Linked DNA regions of Homo sapiens: region 2 is linked to region 1. Evidence: promoter capture Hi-C in 16 types of primary human blood cells and fetal thymus (Javierre and others, 2016). All regions are on one chromosome and are shown on one strand. Each heading gives the region's core, a stretch centred on a gene start or on the middle of the fragment in contact. The rest is flanking DNA. Distances are from core to core; before and after follow the strand shown.

The links. Contacts are between HindIII fragments. The CHiCAGO score rates a contact against its expected background, and 5 or more counts as called.
Region 2: a fragment that was not itself captured here is called in contact with the fragment with the promoter of WASF3 in region 1 in 1 of 17 cell types (megakaryocytes); the score reaches 5.8 in megakaryocytes.

The regions. Positions count from the first base shown.
Region 1 is chr13:26,555,418-26,559,371 of GRCh38, forward strand. WASF3 (WASP family member 3) reads left to right here and starts at 2,266. Exons shown (of 10, transcript NM_006646.6): 1 at 2,266-2,402. RefSeq lists silencers at 1,840-1,899, 2,160-2,369. The HindIII fragment of the contact is 3,016 bases long and covers 116-3,131 here.
Region 2 is chr13:26,184,227-26,188,317 of GRCh38, forward strand. It overlaps a transcript of RNF6 not described here. Among named protein-coding and RNA genes, the nearest start is that of RNF6, 36 kb to the right of the region's middle. RefSeq lists enhancers at 1,919-2,088, 2,139-2,188. The HindIII fragment of the contact is 1,438 bases long and covers 1,914-3,351 here.

The DNA of each region.
Region 1 (3,954 bases), core at 1,016-3,515:
TCCTCCAGCCAATGCCCCAACTTTAAATACTTAGCATTTCAGACTCCTTTGCAGCTAAAGGTGGTCATGTGACATGTGGCTGGCCAATAAAATGCAAGCAGAAGGTGCTGGGTAAAGCTTCCCAGGAAGATGCAGACCCAACTGGGCATGCACCTCTTTGATCTTTTGCCCTTTACCCATCCCCCTACCATTTTCCTCAATGTGATGCAATGCTTACAAGGGAAGCAGGCATCCTGTGAGGATGAAGACAGAGATCACATGACAAGGATAGCAGAGACAATGGCTAGAAAGAGCCTGAGACACAACGACACCATAGAAGAGATATTACAGAAGCCCTGTGGCTGTCTCCAGGTTTCTGGTTTTGTGATAAGAAGCACTCCTATTTAGTAGGCACTTTTAGTCAAGATTCTGTTACAGGTCACCAATTCACTCCCTGATGCAGCAACATTTTATTAAGGATGAGGCACTTATTAGCGGTGGGCTCTAATCCTCTAACAAGACTGCTCTAAGCAGTTTTTATTTAAAGGACTGGTTCACACAAGACCATATTTGAAATAATTTATTTGTACCATGAACCACAACACTAGGAATAGAATCATATTTACCACATGCTCAGCACTGTACTAGGCATTATAAAAGGAGGAAAGAGGACTGTAAAATAAGGGCCTTATCCTCATGGAACTGATGATCTAATTAGAGAGGTAAGACTGACCTATATGAAACAAACCTGAACACTTTGGGATGATGTGTTTAAGGGCTAACAGTGAGTGCAAACTAAGTGTAGCAGCGGTTTATAAGGCTGGGGTCACCGAAGAGGGAAGCAGCCAGGGAAATATGATTAGCAACCTTGAAAACACTCTGGGTATCTATACTTTCATATTTTTGAGTTCTAAATTAATGACCTAAACATAGACATGGAAGCCATTCCCCTGGGTAAGTGAAGATGAAATGAAGGAAAGTCATTTTAATTTGAATGCCAATTTAGCTTTCAATTCAGCAGACATTTGTCACTCTAGTATCAATATTTAAAATACTGGGTCACTGTAATTATTCACCAAAATCCTGTTTACCTTGTTAATTACCAGCAATTTTTTAAAATGATGGCACTTTATGGAAACTGAATATACGTCATCTTTAAAAAGAGCTTTTAAAATCCCTCCTTTGGAAGTAATGCAGGTTAATAGATTAGACATTTTATGAAGAGGGCTGCATGATTTTTCTACTGCATTTCTGGTGTTGCAAACTTTGGTGAAATTATTAACTGCTATTCATTTTTTCCAACTTTTAGTTGTCTCTAGCTAGATGTTGATCATTATTACACATCTGTAAAGAAAAGAGCAAACCAACTTGAATTAGTGTTTCTTGAACTATTCATTAGAATTTAAAATTTTTTCCTAAAAGTTTTTCAATTTAGTGATCCTATTGGTAAATAAAAAGAATAAAGGCATGCAAATTAAAATAAAGGTAACATTTCTATTAGATGTTTTTAAACCCCTTTCCTTTGTGACCTAGCTTTTCTATCTTGGCTTTTCTATCTTTTCTTCTCTTCCTTTCCTTTCCTCCTTTCTTTTTCTTAAGTTTGTTTATGCCTCAGTCATCTGGTCGCACGTGGCTATGTTCCACTGTGGCAGGGCTTAGCTGGCAGTTTCAGGGATATCTTAGTTTTAATAAGTATTGTGGATTTCCTCACATCTAGGGTGGAGAGAGATTGGTTATAGGGTGATAAAAACAGAAGAATCTGTGTTGAAGGAGATGGGAAGATTTTAAGAATGCTAACGAATTTGAGCAGGGCATAAAACCAACCCATGAACAGGGCTACAGTCCTCTCAGGGTTGCCTGAAGCCTCAGCCCTGGAGGACGTCTGACACCTTACAGGTAGAGGACCTCTGTGCAGGAGCCCTCAACACCCAGGGAGGATTAGGATATAAGCGCAAACTCAAAGGTACTGTAATGGGCACCTAGCAATCAGAGGTGATACAAGGGTCTCTTGGCCCGAAGTATCCCCACCTCTCCTCGCTGGAAAGGACGCTGCCTAAGCCTCATCCCGAGCTGGGGGCGGAGGACCAAGGGTGAGAGCCACCGCCTCCGCAATCCCCCGCCCCTCGGCACCGTCGCTCAGCGCGCTCGCCGGCTCCCTATTGGCCGAGGCACTCGCCAATCCTGGTGAAGCGGCCCCGTGAGTTGGCCCTGGTTGGTGGAGCCGGCACTGAGCCCCCCTCCTGCTCCGGCCGAGCCCCCCCGCCGGGAGGGGGCGTGGCCGCGGCCGTGGACGGGCCGGAGGCGGCGTCGCTCGCGCCGCTGCGTGCGGTGTGGTGCGAGGCGGGTGCGCCGGGCGGCCGCGGCGCGGCGGGACCATGGAGCTCAGAGCGCAGCCCCGGCGCCGGCGGCGGGACCGCGGACCGGTGAGTGAGGGCTGCGGTCGCCCCGGCTCTCCGCTGTAGGCTGCTGTGGCCCTCTCGGCTCCGGGCCGGGCGGCTGTCGGGGGAGGGGCGGCCCCACGGCGAACTGAAGTTGCTGCATCGCCGCGCGCTCCGGCCGGGCGGCGGGGCCCACTGCGGGCTGCGGCGCCGCCTCGCGCCTATCCCTGCAGCCCGGCCGCATTCTCCCGGCCGGCTCCCGCGCTGGCAGGGGCTTCTCGCCGTCACGGCGCGGCCAGGCGGCCCTTCTCTCCCGCGCCTCCGGGCCTCCGGCCCTTTGCCGTCCGGTGCGCGCTCCCTGGACTCGGGACAGCCACCCGCCCTCCCCGCCGTAAGTGGCGCCCGGGCCTCCGCTCGCGCCCCACGCACGACGCCCCGGGCCGCTCCGCGTCCGGGACCTTCGCATCCGTTCAGTGTCTGCGCGCCCTCGCTGGTTCTGGTCCAGCTCCGCGTGCCCCCCGGCCCCATTCGGCCCTCGCCGCCCTGGCCTGTGCCCTCTTGGTGCCCGCGTGCGTGTTGGTTGCGGGCGTCCTCTCCCTCGAGGCTGCGGTGCCGCGTGGCTCCCGGCCTCGGAGACCAGGCCGGACTCTTGGAGTGCAGGGGAGGAGGTGGGGCGGCCCGCGAGTGCGGGGGACCGCGCGCACGGAGCCGCGGCGCGCGGGGTATCATCCCCGGGGGTCTTTACCCGCGCGCCTGGGCTTTAGCGAGGGCAGAAGCTTCCTCTCAGTTTGTGGTGCTGACGTGCAATGGCGATTGCTTCTTGATTTGGCCCCTCTGCAAGGGAGAGTTCCCTGGTGGAGACGAGAGTTCTTAATTATTCAGAAACTATGTGATGGGCTTAGGGATCAATGGGAGCATCATAGGAATTCTTTCTCATTTTAAGGTTAATTTTTAAATTAGCGGTTTACTTCCAGCAACAGTCTCGAGTTTTCAAAAACTGAAAATTAAAAAGACTACTTTTCGCAGTTCTTCAAATTAAATGCATAGCAGAACATGGTATTTTAAGATTCAGAGTCTACTTTTTATAAGGGGGAGAGGATAGCTATTTGAAATATTTTGCATCTTAAAAATTAGGTTTATCTAAAGCTTAAAATGCGACTCTATCAAAACTAAGTTCAAAGTATTGTAATTGACTAATCTTTCTATTGTCTCTAGGGCAAATTCTATTGCTTCTTTTTATATGTGCTTTACCCAACTCTCCTTTTCTAGCAGTTAAACAATGCAGTGGTTCTTTAAAGCTAGTTCTTTTATCTGCTTGAGAGGTTAAACAAACGAAAGCTGGGTTTGACCTTTCCCAAAGGCATTCTCATTGTGTCCTCTCCAGCTCCCTTCTCCCAGGGTTCTAATGACTTCAGTGTAGTACTCATTTTTCTTCATCTTGAAAGATTTTCTTAGTTGGTATTCACAAAAGCTGTGTCTTTTCACATGTTTAAATATTGGAAAGTTTGGTCAACTATTATATTTACCTTCCAACCTGTGCTTATTCTAGAACTATGTACATATAGAAATTGTTCTTGCATTTCCAGTTGGCTGACAT
Region 2 (4,091 bases), core at 1,383-3,882, 370 kb before region 1:
TCCACCCTGTTAGCCAGGATGGTCTCGATCTCCTGACCTCGTGATTCGCCCGTCTCGGCCTCCCAAAGTGCTGGGATTACGGGCGTGAGCCACCGCGCCCGGCCGCCTCAAATTATATTCTAATCAGTCTCCCTCAGTTTAGCCTCTGCATAAAGGCACTTTAAAAGTCTTCGAACACTGAACTCTCAAGTGAAAAAGACATGTTGTTGTATAAAAATCTGTTTTATGCTTTTTGCTCTAGAAGTCTCTAAGGCTTAAAAATCAGCAGGGCATATTCTGCTATCAAAACTACAACAGTATAATTTAGTTGTCTTCAAAGTAAAAAGATTTGTAAGACTTGACATATGAGAACAGATTATCTAATTGTTTCCCCTTTATTGAGTATTGGCCATGATGTTACAGAGACGAACATTCAGTTTTGAGTCACTTCTACTCGCAGATGTTTCAACGTTTCCTGGTCCATAATGACTGCACAATACGAGTATCTCTGCCTTTTAAAGCTGTTCTGGCTTAAAACAATGCCTCACCTTACATTTTCTATGAGTGAAAATAACGTAGATTGAATGCTAAGCATACACACTGTGCAGGCCACAAAGGATAAATCTGTGGACTCCTGCAGAAGGCAGGCGATCCAAAGCAAATGTCCTTAGCTGCCCTCCACCAGTAGAGGGCAGCCCTCTCCCTACAAACTGTCTACCTAGTGAGCTCCAAAGTGCGCTGCAGGAAATTATTTTAGAACTTGTAGGTATTGTTATCATTTTATTGATTGATTGATTGATTGACTATTAAGACAGGATTTCACTCAGCCACCCCAAGCTGTAGTGAAGTGGCACAAACACGGTTCATTGCAGCCTCAACTTCCCAGGATCAAGCCATTCTCCCACCTCAGCCTCCCAAGCAGCTGGGACAACAGGCGCACACCACCATGCCCGGCTAATTTTTTCAAATTATTTTTTGTACAGATGGGATCTCACTATGCTGCCCACGCTGGTCTCGAACTAATGGGCTCAAGCTATCTGACCGCCTCGGCCTCCAAAAGTGCTGGAGTTACAGGCATGAGCCATCATCCCCGACCAAGGTATTATTTTTATTTTAGCTTTTTAAAATTTCTATTTGGTGTGCTCTTTGTAATAATACATAAATATATATATGAGCATGCATTACATTTTTATAACTTATAAATAAATACATATACATATACATTTGAAGTGCATTTTTTTTAAAAAAAGTTGTTACTTGGCTGGGCACAGTGGCTCACGCCTGTAATCCCAGCACTTTGGGAGGCCGAGGTGGGCGGATCACGAGGTCAAGAGATCGAGACTATCCTGGCCAACATGGTGAAACCCCGTCTCTACTAAAAATACAAAAAATTAGCCTGGCGTGGTGGCAGGCGCCTGTTATCACAGCTACTTGGGAGGCTGAGGCAGGAGAATCGCTTGAACCCGGGAGGCGGAGGTTGCAGTGAGCCGAGATCGTGCCACTGCACTCCAGCCTGGGCAAAACGAGCGAAACCCTGTCTCAAAAAAAAGTTGTTACTTAAAGTAATGCATTGTCAACAGAAGTGTAGAGGCCATGATTCTAAACTTGTGTTCTCTACGCCTAACTACGAACCTTGTGCCTTTCCAAAACCAAAGGTCACACTTCTGGAAAGTTCCTTCCTCCCTCACATTCAATATCTATTTAGAGAACACACACTATGTCCTAGCTTCTGCTAGGTTCTGAAAATACAGTAAGAGGCAAAAGAGCCATAGCCCCTCCCACCCCGTGCCCTTATGAAACTTGCAGTCTACATAAACATAGATATGAAACAAACACAAAATGTATGTTTTAACCCTAAAATGCGATAGGGAAGCCAGTCAGACGATTTACTCGGGAGTAAGAATTCAGGTCATTCACCAAGGCGCCCATGTCAAAGCTTCATCACCCGCCTCGCGGCCCTAAAACGTGTCAGAGTCATGATACACACAACGCAGAGGAAAAGTTCAAAAACAGATCTTAAAAAGAGAAGTGAAAGCAAGCGATCAAAACATTTCTGGAAATCTGACACATCTGGAGTGCCGTGTGGAGACGCCAGGGCGCGTGGAGCTTTGAGCAGTTAAAAACCCAGACCGGGAGGCCAGTGCGTGTGTAAGACCGCGTTTCTCTGCAAGGCTGTCCCGCGGCAGGAACGCGCTCGTTGGGCCGCAGAGCAAGAGCGGGACGCGCCGGGGGGCGTCTGCGTGGCACGTGGGCCCCGCAGCCAGTCGCGCTACCGACTGGCAGTCAGCGGAGACGCTTCGGAGCAGGTCTGTTAGGGCGCGCGCACACACATGCACGTGCACGAGCGCACGTACACGCGCACACCGCCAGCGCGGACCCTGACGGGGCCGAGCCTCGGAATTGGGCCTCCTCGGCCGCCGTCGTCTTCTCAGCTCTCACAGGGCCCGCAGCGGCGCTATACCTTCGGCCACAGGTAGCGCGTTCCTTCGCTGTGCTGACCGTCGATCCCGGGGGCGCTAGAGCGCCGGCTCCGGGGAGGGCAGGGAAGCGTCAGGGACCTTTCTTCTTCTTTTTTTTTTTTTCTTTTTTTGAGACGGAGTCTCGTTCTGTCGCCCAGGCTGGAGTGTAGTGGCGCGATCTCGGCTCACTGCAATTTCCGCCTCCCAGGTTCACGCCATTCTCCTGCCTCAGCCTCCCGAGTAGCTGGGACTACAGGCGCCCGCCACCACGCCCGGCTAATTTTGTGTATTTTTAGTAGAGACGGGGTTTCACCGTGTTAGCCAGGATGGTCTCGATCTCCTGACTTCGTGATCCACCCACCTCGGCCTCCCAAAGTGCTGAGATTACAGGCATGAGCCACCGCGCCCGGCAAGCGTCAGGGACCTTTCTAGAGCCTTGCTTGGCCTGAGGTCCGGGACTGGGGCTGTCCCCGCTTCCTGTTTCTGCCATCAGTGGGGCCACAGGCCTGAAGACGGCTTGTACCGCCACCTTGGGCGCCTCTGCTCCTGGCTGCGACGTGGGGCGTCCTAGCCTTCGGACCGGGAACCTGATAGGAGACGAATAGAAAGGGGGAAAGCCCTGGAAAATTAAGCCGGCACAAGAAGGGGGAAACGTTTGGAGGTCAGGCAAGGCTGATGGCCTTGGGGATCGCGGAGCAGGAGGCTTACTGGGATGTCCAGTGTGAGAATGTCAGCCCGTGAGCTCTGGTGTGCAAGAAAAATGCCTCTTTTCTGGATTTCAGGTGAATTTCTGACTCCTCTGGGCTACATACGACCACCCTTCCCTGGCCCCCTCTGGTGAACTGGTTATAAAAGAAAAATTACCCTAGTTCTTCCTGCGGTCCCCTCCCCAGGGATTAGGCCAAGTTCTGGAAGCTTATTGGGTGACTTAGTGGGTATGTTAATGGTTAAGTAACGTACCCAAGGTCTTATTGCCAATCAGTGGCAAAGTCAGGATTCAAATGCAGATCTCTTGGACTCCAGAGGCTGGAGTTTATTAAATGTTTAGCCCCAGCTCTATTTGATTTTGGGGGTTTTTTAAGACAGTCTCTATCTGTTGCCCAGGATGGAGTGCAGTGGTGCAATCTTAGCTCACTGCAGCCTTGAACTGTTGGGCTTAAGCAGTCCTCCTGCCTCAGCCTCCCAACTAGCTGGGACTACAGGCGTGTGCCACCACACCTGGTTCCTAGCTCTATTTGAGACCACAGTGGCCTGAAGTGTAAAGCACACTGGACACTAGGTGTCAAAAAATAGAACTAGAAGTCAACAAGTGATCTAAAACAAGATTCTGTAGGTGTCTGGGCATCAGTTTCATCATCTGGGTGAAATGGACTTGAACCTGTTAATATCCAAGGTCCCTTCAGCCCTAATAGTCTAGGAATTCTAGAGAGTGTAACTGCTCATTTGCAGGCTGCCATCCAGACCATCACAACTGTCTTGTGGCTCATGGAGACTTTCAGATTGATGCAGTGGCTCCAAGGCGAAGTGACCTCAATTGCTGATGCAAAACTAGATTCTATAAGTGTAAACTGGTGGTTCACAAGGACAGGTGAGAAGTGCTGATGGTGGCAAGGGAGGCAATTATAACAATATCCCTCCCCTTCTACCCCATCC